Regions from separate parts of the Homo sapiens genome. Here regions 1, 3, 4 and 5 are each linked to region 2. The links are contacts of gene promoters, found by promoter capture Hi-C in blood cells and fetal thymus (Javierre and others, 2016). All regions are on one chromosome and are shown on one strand. The core of a region is centred on a gene start or on the middle of the fragment in contact, and the rest is flanking DNA. Distances in the headings are between cores, read along the strand shown. Region 1 has its middle 25 kb from the start of MIR4771-2. Region 2 holds the start of BCL2L11 (BCL2 like 11). Region 3 has its middle 79 kb from the start of MIR4771-2. Region 4 has its middle 140 kb from the start of MIR4771-2. Region 5 has its middle 57 kb from the start of MIR4771-2.

Region 1 (2,700 bases), core at 64-2,563, 620 kb after region 2:
GAAGAATCCCCTTCAGTGAGTAATAAAGTTCTCTTGCTCACGTCTTTTGGAAGCAATGAAATCCTTAACCCCCGCCAGCCTTGCAGATAGACCGCTTTCTCCACCACTCACTTGCATATCCAGCAAGGGAATGAGTTATTTTAAAATTAGAGATAAATGAGACGTGGGTGGTTTTGTATGCACAGGAGCTCCTTCACTGTATGGTACATGCGTTTCAGTTCATGGCTAGCTATATGGCTTCTGTTTATACACTAGTACTTTAGAAGTTAACCCTTGGTATTGAAATTTCAGAAATGTTCATGTAATTTTTGGGACTGACTCATTCCTCCATGATATGCCTCCTCTCTCCCATATCTGCTAATTGTCACAGTTGCGAGCACTTGAGATGCAGGATATAGACGTGGCTGCACACTTGACCTTGAGTGCCTGCATGCTCTGAGGTCAAGCATACGGCGCAGTGCTGGAGACGGTGGGAGTCGTGTCCTGCATCCTTTCTCCCACTCCTGTCCTCTTTGATCCTGGGGAGGTCTGGTTCCAATTGCTGCGTTTCCAGAGACTCATTCTTAAGTCTCGGATCACAGAAAGAAGCAACAAGAAACTATATCCAACTCAAAACTTTTTAGGAGAATCATAAAAGTGGTCCATTCAGAGGGTAGAGTTGGGTCCACTACGTTATTGTTGCAAGAGGCTGCATATTCAGTAAATGGGTTGTGTAAAATAATGTTCTCTTTTTTTTTTTTTTTTTTTTTTGAGATGGAGTTTCACTCTTATTGCCCAGGCTGGAGTGCAATGGCGCGATCTCAGCTCACCGCAACCTCCGCCTCCCAGGTTCAAGTGATTCTCCTGCTTCACCCTCCCTAGCAGCTGGAATTACAGGCATGTGCCACCACACCTGGCTAATTTTGTATTTTTAGTAGAGACAGGGTTTCTCCATGTTGGTCAGGCTGGTCTCAAACTCCCGACCTCAGGTGATCCACCCTCCTCGGCCTCCCAAAGTGCTGGGATTACAGGCGTGAACCACTGCACCCAGCCAATAATGTTCTCATTGTTAATATGATACTTTTTATCATCTGTTTTTATCATATGTGTTACATTAAACTGATAAATAGCAATATTATAACGACTTGTGAATAGAGATAATGAAAAGCTGATCAAAGAAAAAAAAAAGATAACATACCAAATCGAATGCTGAAGAAAGAGACCCCCAGTGCCATACCATAGATCTAATGCAGTGAGGGGCAGCCGCTCTGGCCCCATCTGGAGGCAGCTGAATCAGGACGCCTCTGCCACAGCTGTCAGCCCCTGCCCCTGCCCCTCCACCGCAATCTGCCCCAGCCATGGGAACTGTTTGGGATCAAAGCCTTGAGTGGGTGCCTATGATCCCTGGACCTAAATCATATGTTTGCACCTCAAAAACAAGGATGGTTGTGAAATGGAATATTTGGAGACTCATTAGAAGGCAGGAGGTACACTGTGGGGAACTATCAAACTGTGAAGAGGGTGCTGAAGATTTGAGGAGCTACAAATGGCAGAGGTCCACCACAGCACACTCACTGACTCAGCCAACACATGAAAAAACAAAAGCGAGGTTAAGGTACGCCACCGGAGCGCTGCTGCAGGAGGAATGCGGCACACTGCATTCTTGCCTCCTTTGTTGGACAATGGGAGAAAACAATGCGTGGTACTAGAAAAATCAGAAAAGGATGTTGCTGTTCACTGACAAAGTGATTTCCCCGGAGGGACCCCACCACGACAGCAGCCACATCCATGGGCCACAGCTTGGAAAGTGTCCAGGCCACGCCCTCTGGGGAAATCCTAGCACTCCTCTTGTCTGTCTCTCCCTCTCAGGGACCACAGCTCTGCGCTGTCTGATGGCAAGAGTTTCGCTTTGTTGTTTTTTTCCTCATCTATTTTGTCCTGTGTTAATTATGTCAGGTGAAAGGATAAACGCCGTCCCTGCTACTCCATCTCATCTGGAAGCAGAAAAGCAGTGCAATGACCCTAAGAGTCACAGGGAGGATAAGGGTGGCTTTCACCACCCCAGCCCAGCCACCTCTGACTCTACCTGGAACCTCTCCTGACCTGCCCCCAACTCTTCCCAAGGAGAGGCTTCCTCCCTCTCTGGTCCTCTCGCAGACCCCCCGCTGCATTCTGAGCCACTCCTCTTCCCTCAGCTCCCACTCACCTCCCACATCCCCTCCATCCCCCTCACCACGGCCCCACTGCATTTTAGTGTCTGCTGTGGTTGACCCCAGATGTCTGCACCAGCCTGTCTCATCTGAACACGCTCCCCTCTCCAGCTGCCCATCCATCACTGCCCCCTTCATGCCATACTGAAGACAGTGCCTTGTTCATGTGGGTGACATTTATGTATCTGCATAGCGTGGGTTCTTTTTTCTGCTCTGATAAGGACCCAGCATGTAGAAATGGAATTCATTTCCCATACATAAACTCAGGCACTAACCAGACTGCATGGCCCAATAAATATAATTCAGAATTAGGAGCCGCAGGAGCACAGCCCTTCCTCACTTGACCATCCTATCACCAAAAGGCCCACCAAGGAGGAAGCCTTACCACACACTCAATCTCTATTGACAGCAATCAAAATGCTTAGCAACTTCTCTAAGAGACTCTAAGAGAGAAATGGCCCTAGATTAATCAACGACCATACATACATTTAAGCTTCTTAATAAATTGTCC
Region 2 (2,700 bases), core at 178-2,677:
ACGTTACAGAAGCGCTTATGAATTTAAAAACTGCTCCAGGCGGCCGGACGGCGGGACAACGCCTCCTCACTTGCTCCTCTACGGCAAGGCCCCTTCCTTCTCCCTGCCGGCTGCGGTGGTGTGTAGGGTGGTCCCTTTACAGAGTTTCCTTAATCCATCTAGCCTGACCTCACCTGCGGGATGTTCCATTTCCCGATCCACCTCCCACACCCCCGCTGCAGTTGTCTAGAAGCTGGGGCTGGGGAACTGAGGCGCGGGAGGAGCAGACAGGAGGGCCGGGGTTGGGGCGCCAGCCACGCGTTGGGAGAGCAGACCCGGGTGCAGACTCAGAGGACTGGAGAGGCGGCATGGAGTTTGGTCTCCTGGGAGGTAGAGTGAGGTGCTGCGGACTCCAGGGAGGAAAGGGATGGGTGGGGAGGCGGGAGGGGAGGAGGGACGGGGTATTTTGCGCTCCCGCACCGCGGCCCGAACTCAGCTGTTCTGCCTTCACTGGCCTCAGCCAGTCGAGGGAGCTCCTACGAGGTTATCTGCGAGCCCAGCAAATCTTGGGGGTCCTAGCCAAATGCAGTGCGCAACGTTCTCTCTCACTTGGAGGCCGCCATTCACCTCGTTTTTTTTTTTCCTAAAAGGATTTTTTTTTCTGAGTGCTTTTTTCATTTCCCTATTTTACCTGCTTTGCACATGCCTCCCGCCCTCACCCGGGAGGCGGCGAAGACGCCCACTGGGACCGCGCCTGGCCGTTTTCTGGGCGCGTCCTGCCCCCACGGCCTCTGTCTCTTAGGGCGACTGGGCGCGGAAGAAAAGCTGGAGAGCCCCTGCGGGGTGGCAGGAGGAGGGTGCCTGAGTCCCGCGAGAGGCCCGGGCGAGGAAGATGCGCAGCCTGCTGATCCGCGTCCCGCCCGGCGCCAGGGACCCTCAGAGGGAGGAGAGCTCAAAGACCTCGCCCCGCGCCTTCGCGAGGACCAACCCAGTCCCCGCGCCTGCCCCAGAGCGGCTTAGAAACTCAGGGCACAGTGAGAGCGCAGGGCGCCTCCCGAGGCTTCACACCGCCGGCCGGGCCAGCGGAGGCTGTGACCGGAGCGCCCCCTCTGTGCCGCGCACGCCGCGGCCGCCGCCGGGTTGGGGTAGGTGAGCGGGAGGCTAGGGTACACTTCGGGGTGGGGGATGGGCGCGCACATGGCCGCCAGCAGGCAGAGTTACTCCGGTAAACACGCCAGGGACGGCGGCGCGCGCGGGAGGCAACCCAGCGGGGCAACCCCCGCCTTTACCTGTCCGAGCCTGCACGCGCCGGCGGCCGCGGCGCCGAGGGGGGCGGAGCTTGCCAGCCCGCGCGCCGGGGCGGGACCTAGCGGGGGCGGGGTCCGCAGTGATTGGGCGTAGGAGCGGGGCCGCCAGCCAGAGCTGGGCTGCAGGGCCGCGCAGGTTTCACTTCGCTCCGCGCAGCCGCCTGGTCTGCAGTTTGTTGGAGCTCTGCGTCCAGCGCCGCTGCCGCTGCCGCCGCCGCCGCCGCCGCCGCCGCCGCCGCCGCCGCCGCCACTACCACCACTTGATTCTTGCAGCCACCCTGCGAACCCTGCCACACTGCGATCGCATCATCGCGGTATTCGGTTCGCTGCGTTCCCGCCGCCACCGCCTCGGCGCCCTTTCTTGGCCCTTGTTCCCCCAAATGTCTGACTCTGACTCTCGGACTGAGAAACGCAAGGTAAATACCTCCAAATCCCGGGGCGCGGGCCTGGCACCGAAGGAAGACTAGCGCTGGAGCCCGAACGGCACCACCTACTGCCCGCTTCCCGTGCACGTGCGAGCGGAGACGCTTGCATCGGCGCCGCTTGTCGCCGGCGGGAGGTGGGGATCCGTGTGGATCGGGTTCCCTCTCGGGCAGGTTCTCTTTAAAGAAAAGTCGTTCACGCGGAACCTGCAGGCTCTTGGCCGAAGTGCGGCTTGGGACGGGATGCTGCGCGCGGGCCTGGTGAAGGGTCGTAGGTCCGGGCAGGAGGAGAGGCAGCGCGTGCCTTTCGGCGCCGGCCCGGGAGCTGAGGACCTGCTCGTAGTATCGGGCTGTGCGCCCAGCTGGAAAGTCTCGCCGCCGGCTCCGGCGCCCTCAGAGTAGCGGCCGCGCAGTGTGAGGGTGTTTCGTGTCTTGGTTTTTTGGGGCGCGTGGGCCTGTTGCGGAGGATTTGCGGAACTGCGGTGGTGATTTAACTGACGAGACACGGCTTTTCCTTTTACTCATTCAGGCCAAGGTTTCGGGGCCACTGCTGCGTTCGCTTTCTCAAGCGTACCTGGGGCCCCTGCTTGCTCTGCAGGAGTCCTGCGGCCTGTGCCATCCGCACGATTCCCTGGCAGCGAGAAATCTAGGTCCTCCCCTGACCACCTGGACCGCGCAGGGGACTAGTCGCGGCCGGCAGAACCTGCTCGGTCCCTGGGCCGGGCTATCTTAGCGGCTCACGCATGCCCGAGCACACCCGACCCGGTTCGCGGTGCAGGCTGGCGGCGCCGTGCCCTCTGGGACCTGTTGCCCCAGGGTTGGCGCTGCTGGTGGAGGGCCCGACGGACGCCAGGGCGGAGGGTGTGAATTTACTCGATGGTCGCGGACGTGCGCGTCCGCGGCCAGGGGTGGCTCTTCGGCTTTGACTCGTGTCTGCGGCGCACCAGGAGAGAGAGGAAGTTGTTGGAGGAGAATAGTTGCCACAGCCAGGG
Region 3 (2,700 bases), core at 73-2,572, 570 kb after region 2:
GTCTCCCACACTAAGAAGGACCTAGGCTCAACAAGAGACCTCCCTGGGCCTGAATATCCTTGCAGCTTACAGCTTTGCCATTCTCAGCAACTTCCCTACCTGGCTAAGGTCAAACACTACACCCATAGCCCAGTGACAGAGCCTGGATTTGGCAGCAACCAGTATACCCCTAGTTCTTCTCTCACCTACTGGGTAGAAGCCCCACTGCCCAGTACAGGAGTCAATGGGCCCAGATTCAAGTCTCAGTTCTCCCTTTGCCAGCCAGGTGGCCCCAAACTGAGTCCTCACACTTAGCTTCCATTTCCTGAGAGAACAGCAGTATCTTCCCCATAGGATTCGGTTAGGAGCTGCATGGGGTAAAGCAGTGGTCCCGGGGTCAATGTTAAGAGAAAGAGGTCTCTCCCTTACCAATGATGACCATCCCACTGCTGTGATGTCTGAATTCCACTGTCTTACAGTAGGTTTGGTGTAGCTCTGAGCTCAGGGGCAAGGTGAACCCCTTCCTTTACCTTCTATTCCAAATAACATCTCATCTTGAGGGTCCCTGGTCCAACTTAGAGGCATCCTAACACCCTGCTGGGGTAACACTGGAAGATTTGGCAAGCTTGTCACCCTCACAGTTTCACAAGTATGTGACTCCTCCCTGGGATTCTGCAGCGCTTGCCTGTCCTCAAATCTTCGTTTATAACATTCTCCCACCATGACACTGAGCTCTGCAAGAGAAGGGGCTAAGTCTCGTTACCTTCTGTCTTCCCAGAGCCATCTACACAGTAGGTGTTTAACAAGTGTTGGTTGGATGAATGGATGGTTGAATGGACAGACAGATGAAGGGATGGATAAATGGTAGATGGATGGACAAACAGTGAATAGTTAGATGGATGGACGGATGGATGGATGGATCGATGGACAGATGGATGGATGGATGGATGGATGGATGGATGGATGGATGGATGGACAGATGGACAGATGAATGGATGGATGGATGGTTGGTCGCTAGCTGCAAATACAGCCCAGGTGGGAAGCTACATGCAGGTGAGCATGGTTTCAAAGTGGCTCTCTCTGTTCCCAGGGAAAGAAAGCATCTCTCCTCTCCTGCCTGAGGCCCCCTCTCCCAGGCTCTCCAAAGCAGCTGAGCCAGGAGAAGCTGGTGGTAGTTTGGGTTCATCACAACATCTCAAATCATTTTTCAAACTCTTGGCCCAGCCCCTCAAACTCTTTGCCAAGCACTTTTGTCTTCGGTTTATACACTCTGGGGAAATGTTATCTGAATGTTTCCAATTCATTTATGCTCAGCTCATCAAAATGCCATTTTATAAGAGCTGTCTAAACTCCAAAAGGTCTGGGAAACTTTCCCTTCCTATATTTATATGTGGAGAGCAGCCTGGTTTCTCCTGTTAAATGGAGGCCCTGCTGTGCCACCAGGCCCCACTCACTCTGCTTGCGCCTGGCTGCCCCATGACAACCTGGGGTAACTAAAGCACAGACACAACTCAGGCCATTTCAGGGCAGGAGGGCAGACTGGACACCACCCAGTCCACCTCACCTCCACACCCAACAAAGTCCTCTTGGACCCAGGGAGGAGACTAGGATGCCCAGTGCAAACGTTTTCAGAAAGAATCCTCCTGAGGTCACTGTCCTTAAGCACAAGTGAAGAGCTCAGAATTCTCAGGATCTTCAGGTAAGGAGGGACACACTCACCACATAGAGGCTTAGGGAGTCTCAGCTTCCTCATCCATTTCTTGCTGACAGGGCTTATGAGGTTTTAAACTAGAGAGTACCCTTCAAGCACCCAAAGCCCTGCCAGAGCCAGAGTCCCCTTAAAGAGAGGTCAGGAAGTGCTGGTGGGGGCTGCCTCCTCACCACCTTCAGCTCATTCTGCAGTGCAACCTGGAGTCAGAAAGAGAGTAAATCAACAACACCTACTCTAGCACCCCCTCTCAGCTACTTAGGCTGTTGGCCTCCACCTTCATCCACTCCCGTCTGCAACTCCCTAAAGTGGAGATGGCTTCCTCACCCCACTCACTTCTCCTAAGCCCAGTTCAAGCTTCTCCTGCTGGAGGGTGGAGGAAGAACACCAGAAATCAGAACAAAGCAAAAATCAATAAAACTGAAAACAGAAAAATTAATACAGAAAATCAGTGAAACAAAAAGCTGGTTCTTTGAAAAGATCAATGAAATTGACAAATCTCAAGCAAGAAAAAAGAAAGGGAAAACACAAATCACCAACATCACAAATGAAATCGGAGATAAAGCCATAGCTATTGTAAACACTGCACAGATAATAAAGAAATACTACAAACAACACTACATGCATAAATTTGACAACTTCAGTGAAATAACCCAATTCCTTGAAAAGTACCAACTACCACAACTCACCAAGATGAAATAGAGACTATCAATAGCCCTGAAACTAATAAATAACTAATAATTTTTAAACTGTCTTAAAAAAACTCCAGGCCTAGATGGTTTCACAGAAGGAAATTCTAACAAATATGTTTAAAACACCAATTTTATGCAATTTCTTCCAGAAAATAAAAGAAAGGAATACTTCTCAATTTATTTTATGAATCTAGTATCACCTGATAATAAAACCAAAGACAGTACAAAAAAAACTTAGAAACCAATACCTTTCATTAAGTATAGATGCTAAAATTCTTAACAAAATATTAATAAATAAAATTTAGTAATATATAAAAAGAA
Region 4 (2,700 bases), core at 99-2,598, 510 kb after region 2:
CCAGGGACCTTCCATCATTGAGAATCAGCCCTAAAAGTCCACAGCACAGGTTCTGGAATTAGGCCCAGCTGGTACACAGACCTGTGTGACTTCAGGAGACAAATATAATGATGGTTACACATTTCTAATCTCACCCATTTAGAGTCAAGACAGGTTCCTAAAATAATCACATACCCTGATTTCCTAACGGCCTTTGGCAAAGTTGCTGAACCTTCATTAGCAGCACATGTAAGGACCAGACAAACCACCCTTTCTCTCCACACTTCTGTCTCCCACTGATGCACAGTGAGAAGACTTATTTGGAGATTCGGCATCCCCCTCCAGATACCCTGAGCTGTCAGGTGATTGTAGAGCTATGCTGAAGCTTCCCTTTCCCACCTTGCACTGAATGATGTGGGCAATGACATCATCCTGGGGCCCTACTTCCTTTCTCAGGCTCAGCTTTCACCCCAGGGCTCAGAGAAAAGCAGCTTTTTAAGAAAACTGGCCCCCAGGAGCTGTTGTTTCTTTGGACTCTATCCTTCCACAGCAAGTGCAGCCCGGCACCAGTTTGAGCAATTGATTCAGGAGCAGCAGCTTCTGGATCTGGTTGTGCAAGAGAGAGAGTGCGTGTGTGTGTGTGTGTGGCAGGTGTACACGCAGATGCACAGTTTCCCAAACATAAACATCCTCATGGGTATTTTTTTCAGCTCCCAGAACTCCAAACAGCCTCTTAGCAGTGTCTCCATTCAATCCAAACTGCCCCATCCAATCCCTCCTCCTCACTCATACCACCCGGGTCTTTCTGAAACCCAAAACTAAGGGGAGTCATATCTCCCCTCCCTGTTCAGAACCATTTGGGAATGTACTGCCTCACTGCCTGGAACTGGGCTGTGGACCCACTGTCTACCTCCAAGCCTGACTTTCCCCACTCCTCTCCCTTTATGCTGCCCACTCACCTTTCAAGATTCAGTTAGGACTCATATCCTCTGTAAAATATTTTCCAACCAGTCCATCCATCTCCCCACCTCCGCACACAGAAACAACACCACATCATCTATTTTGTAAGCACTATCATCCTACACAGAGGTTTCTATGGGATAAAAAGCCCCTGCAAAGTACCTAGCCCATAACGGCACTTGACAAATGTTGGGCAAGTGAATGAACACATCTTGCAGCTGGCAGAGAATTCCAGGCCCTTATCTGAATTGAATAAAGGATACATCAAAAAGAAAAGTTTGAGGCCAAGGGGATCCCCCACATCAGGGAACCGTGCAGTGGGAGCCTGCTGGGTCCTCCAAAGAATACACATGTATCTCCCAAGAGGCCCGTCATGTGGATGGCAATGAGGCAGAGGGTGCTTAGGGCCAGAAAAGACCAACGGAGAAGGGCCAGAGCCATAGCCAGCTTCCCCCTTCGGCCTGCCCGGGCACAGGGGAGCTGCACACGGGGAGAGGCCAAAGGAGGAGGAAGGAAAGAGCAAACCTTATCTGCACCCGTGCCCAGTACTGCTTCCCAGAGCCTGAGATAGGCCTGTGTTGGAGGAAGAGACTCCCTTTCCTGTTCTCTCTCCCCTGAGTTCTTGGGTTCTCAAAAAAAAAAGAATCAGAGAAGACACTAACCAGAGCACATATACCTTCCTTCCCTCTCATCCCAAATCTCTGGAGACAAGAATAAAGTATGCTTTATAAAAGAAAACAATCCTTACCTGGGTCAGATAACCAGAAAGGGTGCTTAAAGGACCCAAAACTTATAAGACACCATGAGGGATGAGGTCAGATGGTGACTGAGCCCGCATCCACAGTGTCTTTGTCTGTTTTGTGTTGCTACAACAAAATACCACAGACTGGGTGCCTTATAAACACTAGAAGTTTGTTTCACTCGTGATCTGGAGGCTGGGAAGTCCAAGATCAAGAAGCCACATCTGGTGAGGGCCTTCTTGCTGTGTCATAACAGGATGGAAGCCATCACATGTGTGAGAGAGAGTGAGAGAAGGTGCCAAACTCACTCTTCATAAGGGCCCACTCTTGAGATAATAAGCCCATTCCCCAGATAACAACATTAATCCATTCATGAGGGTAGACCCCTCATGCCACAATCACTTCTTAAAGTTTCCATCTCTCAACACTGTTGCATTGGGGATTATGTTTCCAACACATCACTTTTGGGGGACACATTCAAACCATAACACACAGACAGCCTACTCTGCACAGCCTTGCCTGCCCAATACCACCCCTGTCATTAGACTGTAATAAAGGGGAAATAGCAGTCAGACAACCTTCAATACAAAAGTGAAAGGGACATCAACAAAAGCATAAGTATTTAAAGAAGACTATAATCCATCAGAAAAAAAAAAGCTTCAAACACACAAATAGAAAAATAAATTATCCAGAAAAAGAATTAGGAAGAAACAGAAGATAATCTTTAAATAGACATAATTAAACTGATACCAATCATAGGTATACATTCTTTTACAAATAGAAATTTAAAATGTTTAAAGTAAAAACTACTAAAAAAAGAACAAGTAAAATCTTCAAGGCATGAGAGAGGATAGGATTAATTTTTTTAGAAAAAGAAAAAGAAAATAAATTAAAAGAACTTAAAATCCTATACTCAACCAAACTATCATTCAAGTGTGAGGAAAAAGAAAACTGTTTCCAGTTATGTCATGGTAAATTAGATTGTTGCTTCCAATTATTCACTTTCTCCCTCCACTGTGGG
Region 5 (2,700 bases), core at 123-2,622, 590 kb after region 2:
AGACAGAGCCAAGAAACACTGTCTCACCACCCAAGCTGCTCAGGTGTGACATGCACCATCAGAGTCCTTCACCCCTGCCATGGAGGCTGTGCAGGGGAAACCAGGATGTCCAGAGCATGCAGAGCCCTGCAGGTCCCCTTCAGCCATGAGCAGCCTCGTCCCACCAGCACCTCCCAGTATGAGTGGTGCAAATGTTATTCTCTGCATGGGCGGGGAGGTGAGGAAGGCCAGGGCACCCTTGCAGGAGGATGCTCTCCTGCCCCTCCCATGCTGGCTTAAGCACCCTTTCTCAATGCTGCCATGGATAGAGATCCCAAGCTGACTGCCCTCCAGCGGCCCTTATGGTGTCATTCACTGCATGCATGGCATGACTCGTGAGAGCTGCTGTAGCCTTCACTTCCCATATTCCCAGGACTTTGCACATTAATAGATGGTCAATAGAACTCTCACCAAACACTTGCCACAAGGCAGGCGCTGTTTATAACACAATCAAGTATTAGTATAAACATGTGAGGTAGGTGCTATTCTAATCCCCATTTTAAAGATATGGAAACTGAGGCATGGAGAATTTGTGTTACTTGCCCAGGGTCAGCCAGATATACGCAGGCCTCAAACCCTGGCAGTTTGGCTACTGGGCTGTGTTCTTGACCATGTGTCATTCTATCTCTTAAGAAATGTGTGTTGACCGCATGTTCTCACTCATAGGTGGGAATTGAACAATGAGAACACTTGGACACAGGGTGGGGAACATCACACACTGGGGCCTGTCGTGGGGTGGGGGAGTGGGGAGGGATAGCATTAGGAGATATACCTAATGTAAATGACGAGTTAACGGGTGCAGCGCACCAACATGGCACATGTATACATATGTAACAAACTGCAAGTTGTGCACATGTACCCTAGAACTTAAAGTATAATAATAATAATAAAAGAAATGTGTGTTGAATAATCAGTCAAGGCCATCAATCAAGGCTTGCTAGAGTACCTATTTCTTACATAATACTACGCTAAAAATGGGTCCCCTGGGTTGGGAAGGGAAACAGATGACAAAGCAAGAGCAAGAAATGACAAAGCAGGCTGGGCACGGTGGCTCACGCCTGTAATCCCAGCACTTTGTAAGGCCAAGGCAGGCAAATCACGAGGTCAGGAGTTCAAGACCGGCCTGGCCAACATGGTGAAACCCTGTCTCTACTAAAAATACAAAAAATTAGCTGGGCGTGGTGGCATGCACCTGTAATCCCAGCTACTCGGGAGGCTGAGGCAGGAGAATTGCTTGAACCCAGGAGGCGGAGGTTGCAGTGAGCCGAGACCGCGCCACTGCACTCCAGCCAGGGTGACAGTGCGAGACTCTGTCTCAAAAAAAAAAAAAAGAGAGAAAGAAAGAAATGACAAAGCAGTGTAGTCCTGGTCAGTCCCACAGCAGCAACGCCTATTACCATCCCACTCTTGTAACAACCTCCGTAAGCAGCACCTGATACAGGTGTAGAGAGAGCTAGCCAGAGGGACGCTGCAGCTGGCATGGGCAGCGGATGTCTCTAGGGGGCTGGATTGTAACTGACACTGACTTTCTTCCTTGCGCTTTTGTTTTGTTTGCATTATTTTAATTTACAGTGATTATGATTTGATTTTACAGAAACCTTTTGTAAAGGTCAGGGTTTAGTCCCTCTCCTCAGGGGTTCACCGGCAAGTTGGGGTGATGTGCCAGAAGCTAATGAAAAGGACCAGCGCCACACAGGAAGAAAGAAAGCCCTGTGGCCTGGTGGCTTGGGAAGGACGCAACAGGACAGGTAAGACCGGCTGGGAGCCAGGTGAGAGCAGGGCTTGCATGGGCAGAGGCTGGAGGTAGGACCACAACAGCTAAGCTCAAGAGGTTCTCTCGTGTTTCTAAAAGGTGAGTGCAATGGAACGCTAGTTTGGGTGTGGTATTATTGTTTTTCTTGAACTAAAAATATTCAAGAACAAAATGGTGCAAAATAGCATGTCCCTCACCATTTCTTCTCTCAACTGCTAGAAAACTGCACATCCAGAATGTTTCCTTGGAAGGTTCTGGTGTGGTGAAGTGGGTGAGGCCAGTGGAGAGAAGCAAGGCACACACACGACTTCCTCAAAACCAAAACACGGCAGAGGAGATTCTGGGAACGAAAACCACAAGTGAGTCAGGGCAGGGAGAAAACATGTGGACAAAGTCTTCATCCCACCCCTCACACTTGAAAAGAACTTTCCAGGAAAAGGAAAAGCTCACACCCTCACACCCCAGGTGAGTGGGCAGCCATCCAGGTCACATGAGTCCTAAATGATTCCTAACACGGCCCTCTGGCAGTGACCACTCACCCCATCCTGACCTCGGGCTGAAAAGGGCAAACTTCTCCCCAGAAGGAGCACGAGACTCGGGCCTGTTTCAATCAGGACTCTGAGATATCTGCTCCCCTGCACACTATGTGCAGAAGTGAAGGCCCAGCCAGCAATGTGCAGTTAGAGAAGTCATTGCTGAATGAATGAATGAGTGAATGAATGAATGAATGAATGCACCACTGTGGTTCATCTGCATCACTGTGAGTCACAAAGACATCTATTGATCCACTGGACTCACATCCCTAATGGCAAAAAATACACCTCAAAGTGTTTTTGGGTTTTTTTGGTTTTTTTGAGACAGGGTCTTTTGCTCTGTCACCCAGGCTGGAGTGCAGTGGTGCGATCTCG

Evidence for each region. The method cuts DNA at HindIII sites, captures the fragments that hold promoters and counts their contacts. A CHiCAGO score of 5 or more calls a contact.
Region 1: a fragment that was not itself captured here is called in contact with the fragment with the promoter of BCL2L11 in region 2 in 4 of 17 cell types (naive CD4 T cells, total CD4 T cells, naive CD8 T cells and 1 more); the score reaches 7.7 in naive CD4 T cells.
Region 3: a contact is called between a fragment that was not itself captured here and the fragment with the promoter of BCL2L11 in region 2, in 16 of 17 cell types (neutrophils, erythroblasts, endothelial precursors and 13 more). The highest score is 23.9, in neutrophils.
Region 4: a contact is called between a fragment that was not itself captured here and the fragment with the promoter of BCL2L11 in region 2, in 9 of 17 cell types (neutrophils, M2 macrophages, erythroblasts and 6 more). The highest score is 11.6, in neutrophils.
Region 5: a contact is called between a fragment that was not itself captured here and the fragment with the promoter of BCL2L11 in region 2, in 17 of 17 cell types (erythroblasts, neutrophils, total CD4 T cells and 14 more). The highest score is 27.4, in erythroblasts.

The regions. Positions count from the first base shown.
Region 1 is chr2:111,744,506-111,747,205 of GRCh38, forward strand. It overlaps the pseudogene CENPNP2. Among named protein-coding and RNA genes, the nearest start is that of MIR4771-2, 25 kb to the right of the region's middle. The HindIII fragment of the contact is 2,733 bases long and covers 1-2,680 here.
Region 2 is chr2:111,119,487-111,122,186 of GRCh38, forward strand. BCL2L11 (BCL2 like 11) reads left to right here and starts at 1,428. Exons shown (of 4, transcript NM_138621.5): 1 at 1,428-1,702. RefSeq lists enhancers at 633-712, 1,863-1,982 and silencers at 993-1,532, 1,866-2,160. The HindIII fragment of the contact is 10,886 bases long and covers 1-2,700 here.
Region 3 is chr2:111,690,452-111,693,151 of GRCh38, forward strand. No RefSeq gene overlaps it. Among named protein-coding and RNA genes, the nearest start is that of MIR4771-2, 79 kb to the right of the region's middle. The HindIII fragment of the contact is 1,440 bases long and covers 603-2,042 here.
Region 4 is chr2:111,632,386-111,635,085 of GRCh38, forward strand. No RefSeq gene overlaps it. Among named protein-coding and RNA genes, the nearest start is that of MIR4771-2, 140 kb to the right of the region's middle. The HindIII fragment of the contact is 1,972 bases long and covers 363-2,334 here.
Region 5 is chr2:111,712,978-111,715,677 of GRCh38, forward strand. No RefSeq gene overlaps it. Among named protein-coding and RNA genes, the nearest start is that of MIR4771-2, 57 kb to the right of the region's middle. RefSeq lists a silencer at 1,005-1,225. The HindIII fragment of the contact is 7,580 bases long and covers 1-2,700 here.